Linked DNA regions of Homo sapiens: all the other regions are linked to region 1. The links are contacts of gene promoters, found by promoter capture Hi-C in blood cells and fetal thymus (Javierre and others, 2016). All regions are on one chromosome and are shown on one strand. Each heading gives the region's core, a stretch centred on a gene start or on the middle of the fragment in contact. The rest is flanking DNA. Distances are from core to core; before and after follow the strand shown. Region 1 holds the start of NCAPD3 (non-SMC condensin II complex subunit D3). Region 2 overlaps FAM118B (family with sequence similarity 118 member B). Region 3 overlaps RPUSD4 (RNA pseudouridine synthase D4). Region 4 overlaps STT3A-AS1 (STT3A antisense RNA 1).

Region 1 (2,700 bases), core at 174-2,673:
CCGGCTGTCGGCGCTGGGGGAGGGGGTCCCGGGGGTCGACTCACCGATCTGCCCGATGAACTCGATCTTGATGCCCTGGTGCTCCAGCCGCTTGTTGGGGTTCTTGAGGGCAAGGCTCACCTTCCCGGAGACCGTCTCCCCGTCGTAGAAGAGGAAATATTTCTCCTTCTTCCCGTCCTCCGTCTTGTGCTCGGCCCGCTTCCTACTCTCTGCATCGTTCAGAAGGATTTCCACCTCCACGCTCTGCCCGAAGCCGAAGAAGCTCATCGCACCGCCGGGCCGGGCGGGTCTCGGTAAGGACCGCTCCCTCGCACCGGGGCGCGGGCTGCCCTAGGTAAAGAAGGCCAGAGGGCCCGATGCGCGAGCGCGCTCGGCCGCCGCGGGGCTGCCTGGCTCCGCCGCTGCCGCCGGGCAGTGGGCGCCGACGGACAGCCGGCTCCACGGGGGAGGGGCACGGCCGGGGGAGGCTGGCGGCTGCGGGCTGCGGCGCCCGAGCAGCAATGCACCGAGGAGCAGTGCCCTCGGCCGAGCCAGTCCCAGCCAGTCCCGCGGCCGGTGGCAGTGGGCGGGCGAGGGTCGGCCGTGCAATGCTGCGGGGGGCAGCCGCACAGAGCCGGGTGTGGGTGGCCTGCGCCTGCCGGGTGGGGTCCAGCGCCGAGCAGCGCTGCGAGCTGCCCAGCCTCCGGCGGTGCAACGCACCGAGGCGCTTCGGCGGCTCCGGGCGGGGGAGGGGGCGGGCGAGCTCCAGCCCGGATGCGCTGGAGCAGCGGCGCGCAGGCGCACCCCCTAACGCTCCTGGGACTCCCGGCAGCCCGGAGGAGAGCTCGCTGCGCATGCGCAGGGAGAGCGCGGCCGGCGCTCCAGCGGTCGGCATGGCAGCTGCTACCTCGCTGGGACAGGCTCTGGGCCCACGCGTGCCGCGCAGTCCCTACAGAACTGCAGTTGTCTTGTCTTCTCGGAGTGCTTTCGGCTACTTTTCCCTTATTACTTTAGCTCGATACACGTTGGGCTGCCTTTCACATTCGGATATTACGCTGTTCGAGTGCTGACGGGAAAGGCAGCCCTTTGACACGCACGCGAAATGTCGCCTGACGAGGGCAAAGGTGACAGTTACTACCGGAAGTACCCTATCTCAGATACCCTTTAGATTTTCCCCCATTGAAGAAAAACGAGGCGGGAAAAACGCTGTTAGGGTTTAACTCAGGCCCTGGCTCCTTCTCGAACGAATTAGCGGAACACCCGCAGGAGCCTTGTTTGGCTTCCACTTTTCGGCCCGCCCAGTTCTCTGAGCGTGCGGCGGACGACGCCGGTGATTGGTTGAGCGAATGGAAACGGCTCGGCGCGGTGGTTGGCCAGTGGGAAATTCTGTACGTTGTGATTGGTCCACAGGAACGACTCGGCGCGCGCGCGGGAGCGAGCTTTGAAAGTTGAGCACGGCGGCGGCGAGCCGGTGCCCTGGGATCATGGTGGCGTTGCGGGGCCTTGGTAGCGGCCTGCAGCCCTGGTGTCCGCTGGATCTTAGACTCGGTGAGCAGATGCAGCCGGGAGGCCCGGGGGCCAGGGCGAGGGTCCTATGCGTCCCCGACGATGCCTAAGCCCGGGCCGGGGTGCCGGTGGGGGCGGGGTGGGGGCGCCCGGCTGTCGGCGGTGCCTGGGGTCCCCAGGGCCGTGCCACGCCAGGATTGCGGCTAGCCAGGTTTCCCGTGGGGGCTCAAGCCGGCCAGGCCACCCTTAGAATAAGCGAATGTTGGCCAGTCTCTTCTAGCGCCTGTGCATCTGTTTTCTCGGCCTTCCCCTTCTTCCTGTGCGTGTCTTCGTGCACCTATCTATTCTTACCTATTAAGATGGTTTTAAATTGCAAATCTCTTTCTTCCGCCAGACTTATTTCTTGAACTTCATGTTCATAGGTTCCACTGGATGTCTCACATGCAGACATCATCAAACGTCACATGAGTGAAAATGGGATTCCCAAAGCCTGCTAATGGCACCATCCAAGCCACCAACCCAGGAGTCATGGCATTTCTGCTTCCCCTTTCATGCCCACTACCACTGTCCTGCCTCTGAGGTGTCTCAGGGCAGCCCCGCTCCATTCCTGATGCTGCTGCCTTCATCATAGCCTCGAGCAATTGCAGGAGTATTTTAGCTGCTTTCTGATGTTAACTGTGCCAGCCCATCCCCCACACTTTTGCAGAACGACTTTTGAAAACACAGCTTTGAATGTGTCAAGCCTGTACACCTTTAATGTTTCCCCTTTGTTTCCTAAATAAATGACCACATCCTTGGCATGCTTTATAAGAGCTGCCATTCTCTCCAGTTTGATTTTCCAAGAGCATAACCTTTGGAGTCGGACACACTTGGATTGTTCCCTTGGCTCTACCCCATAGCATCCATGTATTACCGTGCAGGTTGTTTATCCTTGCTAAACCCCTGTTTTCTGATCTGTCAAATGGGGAGTACAATATCTACCTCACAGGGGTTTTTGTAAAGATAAATTTGTACTTGCCACATAATAACTGCTGAACAGATACTAATACCCACAAGCAAACACTGTAACAATTTTGTTCATTTAGAAACACTTTAATTTCTTTCCCTTTGTGTGCTTTGTTACACTGTGCTTGCTGGGAGGCACTTTTCTGCATTTATTTGCCTGGCAAAACTCTTACATTCAGGTCCAATTGAAGAATCATCTTATTCCTCTCC
Region 2 (2,700 bases), core at 139-2,638, 8.0 Mb after region 1:
TGTAGACTGCAGCCTTTCCCATCAGTGGATAAAGCAAACTCACGGTTTCCTCTATCTCAGCACACAGGGAGACAGGAATCATGTCTAGCTGTGCCAAGATCTGATTCCTCTGTGGATCCCAGTCTTGAAATATTTCATCTATGGTGAACTCGATTGGCTCCTAATTTTATCCCTTAGCATGCCTGAGACCCTCTACCTTCTGTCAGATAAGATCTGTATCACACTCATTTCCTGAACATGTGCTTTAACAGAGTCACTGAGGAAATGCCAGACTGATGCCACTTGTTCTTGCCATTTTACTAGCAAACAATGACCCCATCTGAACAAGGTAAGGAGAAAGACCTCACTAGAGGTAAGGTTTCTGAAAGACATTAAGGATTGAGAAGAAAAACCCCAAATTCTAGAATGCCCTTTAACTTAAGCCCCCAAAATAAATCATACTGGTATTCCAGGCTCAAGAGCTCAGATGTGGCTGGACACGGTGGCTCACGCCTGCAATCCCAGCATTATGGGAGACCGAGGTGGGTGGATCGTGAGGTCAGGAGTTTGAAACCAGCCTGGCCAAGATGGTGAAACCCCGTCTCTACTAAAAATACAAAATTTAGCCGGGTGCGGTGGTGGGCGCCTGTAATCCCAGCTACTCGGGAGGCTGAGGCAGTAGAGTCGCTTGAACCTGGGAGGCAGAGGTTGCAGGTAGCCGAGATGGCGCCACTGCACTGCAGCTTGGGTGACAGAGTGAGACTCTGTCTCAAAAAACAAAAAAACAAACAAAAGAGCTCAGATGTTGCTTGTTATTTTCTATTATAAAGCCAAAGTAACGCATATGTATAGGGAACAAAAGTGTTCCAAGAAGAAATAATGAACAAATTAAAACCTAATTTGAATTAGAAGTTGGTGACTGGAGGTGATGATTTTACCGTGCAAAGAATGACAACTTCTTTCTTTGTCACTGCTTTCCTCCTGTGCAGCTTCTGAGAAGGTATATCCTGAAAATAATGACACATGTTGCTAAGTAAGGAGACTTTTAAAATATCAGATATTTCCCATAGATCAAGTAGTATGATCACACAAACAATTCCATCATAAATGGCATAGGTTATTCATTAAAAATGAAATTGAATAACTCTTTAAGGGCAAGATAACTCTTTAAGGACTCTAGTGAGTCCTTAACAATTGAATTTCTACTACAAAAATAGTGTGGGTTACCTATGAGAAATAACCCTCAGTAGCTTACTTTTATGTCAACAGAGTAAACACAACATACTGCGTACAAATGCAGATTCTTCCAAGTCTGGGGCATTCCAGAAGATGCCATCATTATAAAGGATATTCTCTATGAGTTAAAATTTGAGGCCAGGCGCGGGTGGCTCAAGCCTGTAATCCCAGCACTTTGGGGGGCCAAGGCGGGTGGATCAAGAGGTCAGGAGTTCAAGGCCAGCCTGGCCAAGATGGTGAAACCCCATCTCTACTAAAAATACAAAAAATTAGCTGGGTGTGGTGGTGGGCACCTGTAATTCCAGCTACTCGGGAGGCTGAGGCAGAGAAGTTCTTGAACCTGGGAGGCAGAGGTTGCAGTGAGCCAAGATCATGCCACTGCACTCCAGCCTGGGCAACAGAATGAGACTCTATCTCAAAACAAAAACAAACAAACAAACGAAAAATTGACAAGTCTTAATGAAGGGAAGACTTTCCTGCCATAAAAATTAAAATGGGCTAGGCCCAGTGGCTCACTCCTGTAATCCCAGCACTTTGGGAGGCCGAGGCAGGAGGATCACTTGAGCTCAGGAGTTTGAGACCAGCCTGGCCAACATGGCAAAACCCCATCTCTACCAAAAATACAAAGGTTAGCCAGGTGTGGTGGCACACACCTGTAATCCCAGCTACTCAGGAGGGAGGCTGAGGCAGAACTGCTTGAACCCAGGAGGCTAAGGTTGCAGTGATCTGAGATTATGCCACTGCACTCCAGCCTGGGTGACAAAGCGAGACCCTGTCTCAAAAAACAAAACCAAAAAAAAAAATGTTTAGTAAATACATTCCACTTCATTTTCACCCCTTTTCACTTCCTTGAGGATTTCCAACTTAAATAGAGCTGAAAATTAAAAACAAGTTTTTTGGCTGGGCGCAGTGGCTCACACCTAATCCCAGCATTTTGGGAGGCTCAGGAAGGTAGAATGCTTGAGCTGAGGAGTTCAAGACCACCCTGAGCAACATGGCGAAACCCCATCTGTACCAAAAATACAAAAATTAGCCAGGTGTGGTAGTGCATGCCTATAGTTCCAGCTACTCGGGAGGCTGAGTTGGGAGGATCACTGGAGCCTGGGAAATCAAGGCTGCAGTGAACCATGATCATGCCACTGCACTCCAGCCTGGTGATAGAGTGAGAACCCATCTCAAAAATAAATAAATAACAAATTTTGAAAATTAAAAAATTTTACCATTAAAAACCCTCAAGTGTAACTGTCTGTAGTGATTAAGTGAATTCACTTGGCTGCACCAGGTGAAATATCCTGGAGGTCCCCACATTGTGAGCATGGAATCCAAAACCATTGATAGCAAAACCAAGAACAGAAGGATAAGAAAGATATGAAGTAGATTCGTGTTACAGTTATTCTTAGAATTAAAAGGAAAATAAATGTTTTACAACATGAAGAGGTACAAAAAAGTCACTCAAGTTCACTTCATTCATTCATCATTACACAA
Region 3 (2,700 bases), core at 201-2,700, 8.0 Mb after region 1:
AAAAAAAAGATATTTTCTATTTCCTTGTATAACAGTGATATTGGCTATCAATTTACATGTTTTTTACATGTTTATTGGCTATTTGAGTTTCCCTTTTGGGAACAGACTGATTATTTCTTTTGCCTATTTTTCTACAGGGTTGTTTATTATTATTATTTTTTTTTATTTAAGACCGTGCCTGGCCTTTTTTTTTTGAGATGGAGTCTTGCTGTGTCACCCAGGCTGGAGGGCAGTGGCACAATCTTGGCTCACTGCAACCTCCTCCCTGGTTCAAGTGGTTCTCATGTTTCAGCTAGCTGGAATTACAGGCACATGCCACCATGCCCAGCTAATTTTTGTATTTTTAGTAGAGATGGGGTTTCAGCCTGTTGGCCAGGCTGGTCTTGAACCCCTGACCTAAAGTGATCTGTCCATCAAAGTGCTAGGATTACAGCGCTTACAGCTCACAGGCGTGAGCCACTGTGTCTGGCCCAGGTTGTTTATTCTTTTCTATTTGATTTGTAAGTATTCATTTTATATTTTGAATGTTAGTCCTTTTTAGATTACAGATTTTGCAGATACTTTGTGAATCTGAGGAGCCCTTTAAAAATATGTATGATTGAGACTTACCCACAGAAGTTCTCATTCGTAAGTGTGGTGGTTGTGGGGATTGGCATCTGTATTTTAAAATTTGATATACAATCAAATTTAAGAACTATGATAAGATTATGGAGAATGGAGGAATTTAGGACAGTAGCTAAGACCTCAAAAAGATGTGTGTTCAACTCTCAACTGTGTCATTTAACAGCTGTGGGGCCTTGGGCAGGTTATTAAATGTCCATAAGCTTTGTTTTCTTCATCTGAAAAATGGAAACAGTAGGATTTATGAGATAGTTAAATAAGATTGATTCTTGTGAAATGTTTAACACAGTACCTAGTTCATAGGAAAAGTTAAAAAATAAAAAATAGAGACTTATTTTTCTATTCAAGCAATCAAAATATTAAGACTATAAAATACATGTTATGTTATTTGTGAAAAATGTCCATTAAGGTTCAAAATTGGTAACCATTCTCGGTATCAGGTTCATGGAGGAATTGAAATCAATCAGTTGGGTCTTGCTGATGGAACATTCTTGAGTTGTAGTGTCATATCATTAGGAAGGACATTCTTGTCACAGAAGATCTACAAAATCTGTAAAATACGATAAAATGTACCAGATAGTAGCTGAAACTGAAGTGGAGTGTCTGCGTTGTGAAATAGTGTGTGTGAGTAGGATTTTGACCCCGTGGTTAGTGATTATACAACCGACCACCAGGTACCCAGATGGACTTTTCCATCATTGACCTGAAAGAGGCATAAATTTACAGACAGATTAAACAGTCTTCTACCTGTCTGTGAGGTCATGAGGTCATGGGAGGGAGAACACCAACAGAAGTGATTTGGAATGAGTTATTGAGTTGTGGTTGTGGTACCTATGACTTCTTTCTTTCTTTTTTTAGACGGAGTCTTGCTGTGTCTCCCAGGCTGGAGTGCAGTGGCATAATCTTGGCCCACTGCAACCTCCACCTCCTGGATTCAAGCGATTCTCATGCCTCAGCCTCCCAAGTAGCTGGAATTACAGGCACGCGCCACCACGCCTGGCTGATTTTTTTTTTGTATTTTTAGTAGAGATGGGGTTTCACCATGTTGGCCAGGCTGGTCTTGAACTCCTGACCTGAAGTGATCCACCCGCCTTGGCCTCCCAAAGTATTGGGATTACATGTGTGAGCCACCACGCCTGTCCCCTGTGACTTCTTCGGGTACAGTTCCCTCCTGTTTTACCTATGTGGCAAATGAGCCAGGAACGGTTCTCTGAATGTTTTATTAGGTTCATTCATCCAATTATTCATTTGTTCATTTACCATGCAGTCAGAATCTACAATCTTTTATTATTTGAAAAAAAATACAAAACTATATTACCATAATTTTATTTTAACTGTACATATCCATTTTTAAAGACTGGAAAGACCATGTTATTAATGTAATTTTTTTCTTTTTTTACCCCAAATATTCTACAATTAGCATGTATGACTTTAGTAGTAAAAAAGATAAGCTTGTGAAATCTATCAGCTCTCAGGCTAAGCATTACACCAAGAGAATCTTGCACGATCCTTCAATCATAAGAAATCACATGTTAGTGCAGAAGGTCCAGCGTGAAATCCTCTAAGTGGCCAAATCTAGGAGTTCTTCTCTGGCTTGGTTGGCTAAAGCAGTGATCTGTGTCACCCCCAGGGCCATCACTGTGCATGTCCCCATGCCCTCAGCAGGAGTCGTGGACATCCCCATTGTGGAGAAGGAGGCGCAAGGCCAGCAGCAACACCACAAGGTGAGCGAGCAGCCTCCCTGAGGCATGGGTTGCTGCTCTTCCTTGGGAATCATATCTTGATTTCTTTGGCTTCAGATGACATTGTCCCCGAGCTACCGCATGGACGATGGGAAAATGGTGAAAGTGCGGCGCAGCCGGAATGCGCAAGTTGCTGTAACTCAGTACCAGGTGCTCAGCAGCACTCTCTCCTCCGCCCTCGTGGAGCTCCAGCCCATCACTGGTGAGAGTGTCACTTTTCCGCAGTGGGATCACAAAACCCTGTGCCACCAGGTTTTGTCCAGGGCCTCGTTCTGAGCAGCTAGTAGTGTGGCTGACTTGTGTGAGAATGTGCTTCTGGTGCTGATCTGAGGCCGGG
Region 4 (2,700 bases), core at 161-2,660, 8.6 Mb after region 1:
TTGAACCTGGGAGGCGCAGGTTGCCGTGAGCCGAGATTGCGCCATTGCACTCTGGCCTAGGCAACAAGAGTGAAACTTCGTCTCAAAATAAAAGAAAATAAACCTACAGTTTATACGTGAATTATAGTGTATCAGTTAATCCTCCTCCCTCCTGATTTATAAGTCCAAAAGTTTTGAACTGGTTGTTTCAGAAAACAATGCTTTTACTATTTCATCAGTTGCTTAAAAGGAATGTTTTGATGTAGAAGTTAGAACTTTTTCGTAGAGCTTTTCATTTTTCTTAAAGCGTCAGTTTACCTTTCTTGTATATCATTAATCAAACGAAACTCATGCCTTCATCTCATCTGTAGCACACCAGAGTAATAGTATCTGTGTTCTCCAAGCTGTTCTCTCCAGAAACCACGTTTCTACGTGTGTGCAAAGTTGTATTACTGGGATTTCCCCTGAATGCACTTCTGGATTCCACTGTTTCGTGTTATTTGGTTGGGTGTTTTGTCTTAATAAGACATAGTTCTTTTTCTTTTTTTTCATAGATTATCATCTGATAAGACATCTTGCTATTTCTTAGATTTATTTTTCACTTTTGATGAATTTTTTTTCAAGTAAGTGTTTTAGAAAGGCTGAATGGAAGCAAACATTGCCTTTGCGTGTTAGAAAATATCTGTATTTTGTCCTTAATAGCATGGCTGGGTTTAGAATTTTAGGAACAAAATTGGGACCCACCCACCCCACCCCGTATGCACACAGACACATAAAAGCACACTTTCAAGCCTCTGTGACTATATTGTTCGTGATCCACTGTGCCTTAAGAAACCTGACACCAATCTGAGTCACTTTCCTTTATCGGTAATCTATTTCCCTCTCTGATAAATTGTCTTTCCTTAGAGATTTCATCTATGTGTTTCACCTTCTTTCATTTTTTTCTGCTTTACATTTGGCAGGCCCTTTCAGTCTGAAAACTACAATTTGTATCATCAGTTCAGGAAATGTTCTTTGATTTTATTCATCTCCATTTTTCTATTCTCATTTTCTGAAGTTGCTGTTGGACAAATGTTTTATCTCCTGGTTCTTGGATACCTCTACCATTCTTAACTTTTTCTTGATCTTTTTGCTGTATGTTCTGGAAGATTTCCTCAATATTATCTTGCAGTTCACTAATTTAGCCTCTTCAGTGTCACTTTTTTTTTTTTTTCCCTTGAGACAAGGTCTCATCTGTCACCCAGGCTGGAGTGCAGTGGCACCATCTCAGCTCACTGCAGCCTCAACCTCGTGGGCTCAAAGGATCCTCCTGCCTCAGCCCTCAAGTAGTGGAAAACACAGGTGCGAGCCACCACGGCTAATTTTTGTATTTTTTTGTAGAGACGGGGTTTCACCACGTTGCCCAGGCTGGTCTCAAACTCCTGCGTTCAAGCAATCCACCCACCTCGGCCTCCCAAAGTGCTGGGATTACAGGCGTGAGCCACGGCGCCCGGCCAAATCTGTTCTTACTTTATGGATGCAGTAGCTTCTGAAATCTCTGTGAAAATAGTTACTAGAATTTTTTAAATTACCTTTTGTTTCCATAATTACTTAAATTTCCTCCAGAGCCAGGTGTTGTTATTTGTGTTTTGGAAAAGCTGCTGAGCTGATTCCGATGTTGATTCCTCGTGAAGAGGAATGATTAGAGGAACTTACCTAAATGATTAATTGGTCATTGTTTTCTTTCTCTAGGTCTCAAAGCACTACAGAATATTTAAATTTGAAATCAGAATGAGTACAAGGAGAGGCTGAACATATGGGCTAATTGCTCATCTTACTCAAAGATTCCCTGAATTCCAGTGTTTTATCCAGCTTTGAGACCTATGGAAAAATAGCTGATCATGTAATTCTTGAAATTTTTGCATAGTCATTTGCTTGTCAGTCTCTCTCACTGGACTGTCAGGTCCTAGAAGGCAGTAATCATATCTTTTTGGTTCACCCTTGAGTCCCCAGTCCCTTGCTCAGTACCTGACAGAGAAGGTGCTCAAATGCTTGTTACGTGATTAAGTCATAATTCCCTCACTTGATCCTTCAGTGGTTCTGCAGACTCATTTTAGGTCCATCCAAAATTTGTACTGGTGTATGGCTCTCGTTGTTACAAAGGTGTAAATTGCACTGACCTGAAGTCAGCTTCCTTTTAACTGCTGTAGGTTATACAACTTTGGCAGAATATCGTTTTGTTTTTTTTATTTTGAGATGGAGTCTCACTCTGTCGCCCAGGCTGGAGTGCAGTGGTGCGATCTTGGCTCACTGCAACCTCTGCCTCGCAGGTTCAAGTGATTCTCCTGCCTCAGACTCCTGAGTAGCTGGGACCACAGGCGCGTGCCACCTCGCCCAGCTAATTTTTTGTATTTTTAGTAGAGACGGGGTTTCACCATGTTAGCCAGGATGGCCTCGATCTCCTGACCCCATAATCCGCCCGCCTCGGCCTCCCAAAGTGCTAGAATTACAGGCGTGAGCCACTGCACCCAGCCCAGAATATGTGAATAAAAGGTGAGATGACTGCTAAACTATCTATTCCACCCCACTACTGATGAACAGTAACCTTCACCAGAGCAATCTCAATGATGGAGGTAAACACACATAAAGGAGCAGAATGAACGTACTACTGCTGTAATCAGAAAATAAAGTACTATTTGTGGGTGGAAAATGAGGAGACAGTGAATGGACAACTGTAGTTGC

What was found. The method cuts DNA at HindIII sites, captures the fragments that hold promoters and counts their contacts. A CHiCAGO score of 5 or more calls a contact.
Region 2: a fragment that was not itself captured here is called in contact with the fragment with the promoter of NCAPD3 in region 1 in 1 of 17 cell types (neutrophils); the score reaches 6.5 in neutrophils.
Region 3: a fragment that was not itself captured here is called in contact with the fragment with the promoter of NCAPD3 in region 1 in 5 of 17 cell types (monocytes, neutrophils, fetal thymus and 2 more); the score reaches 15.5 in monocytes.
Region 4: a fragment that was not itself captured here is called in contact with the fragment with the promoter of NCAPD3 in region 1 in 2 of 17 cell types (neutrophils and monocytes); the score reaches 9.9 in neutrophils.

Annotation. Positions count from the first base shown.
Region 1 is chr11:134,222,690-134,225,389 of GRCh38, reverse strand. NCAPD3 (non-SMC condensin II complex subunit D3) reads left to right here and starts at 1,423. Exons shown (of 35, transcript NM_015261.3): 1 at 1,423-1,527. The coding sequence starts at 1,464. VPS26B (VPS26 retromer complex component B) reads right to left here and starts at 719. Exons shown (of 6, transcript NM_052875.5): 1 at 45-719. The coding sequence starts at 267. RefSeq lists enhancers at 83-142, 933-982 and a silencer at 343-812. The HindIII fragment of the contact is 9,666 bases long and covers 1-2,700 here.
Region 2 is chr11:126,227,511-126,230,210 of GRCh38, reverse strand. It overlaps FAM118B (family with sequence similarity 118 member B), which reads right to left. Exons shown (of 9, transcript NM_024556.4): 2 at 918-986. Among named protein-coding and RNA genes, the nearest start is that of FAM118B, 17 kb to the right of the region's middle. The HindIII fragment of the contact is 2,916 bases long and covers 1-2,700 here.
Region 3 is chr11:126,205,333-126,208,032 of GRCh38, reverse strand. RPUSD4 (RNA pseudouridine synthase D4) reads left to right here. Exons shown (of 7, transcript NM_032795.3): 4 at 2,252-2,345; 5 at 2,421-2,565. Among named protein-coding and RNA genes, the nearest start is that of RPUSD4, 5.0 kb to the left of the region's middle. The HindIII fragment of the contact is 1,248 bases long and covers 827-2,074 here.
Region 4 is chr11:125,586,883-125,589,582 of GRCh38, reverse strand. The region is part of intron 1 of STT3A-AS1 (STT3A antisense RNA 1); the gene reads left to right. Among named protein-coding and RNA genes, the nearest start is that of STT3A-AS1, 4.3 kb to the left of the region's middle. The HindIII fragment of the contact is 4,824 bases long and covers 1-2,700 here.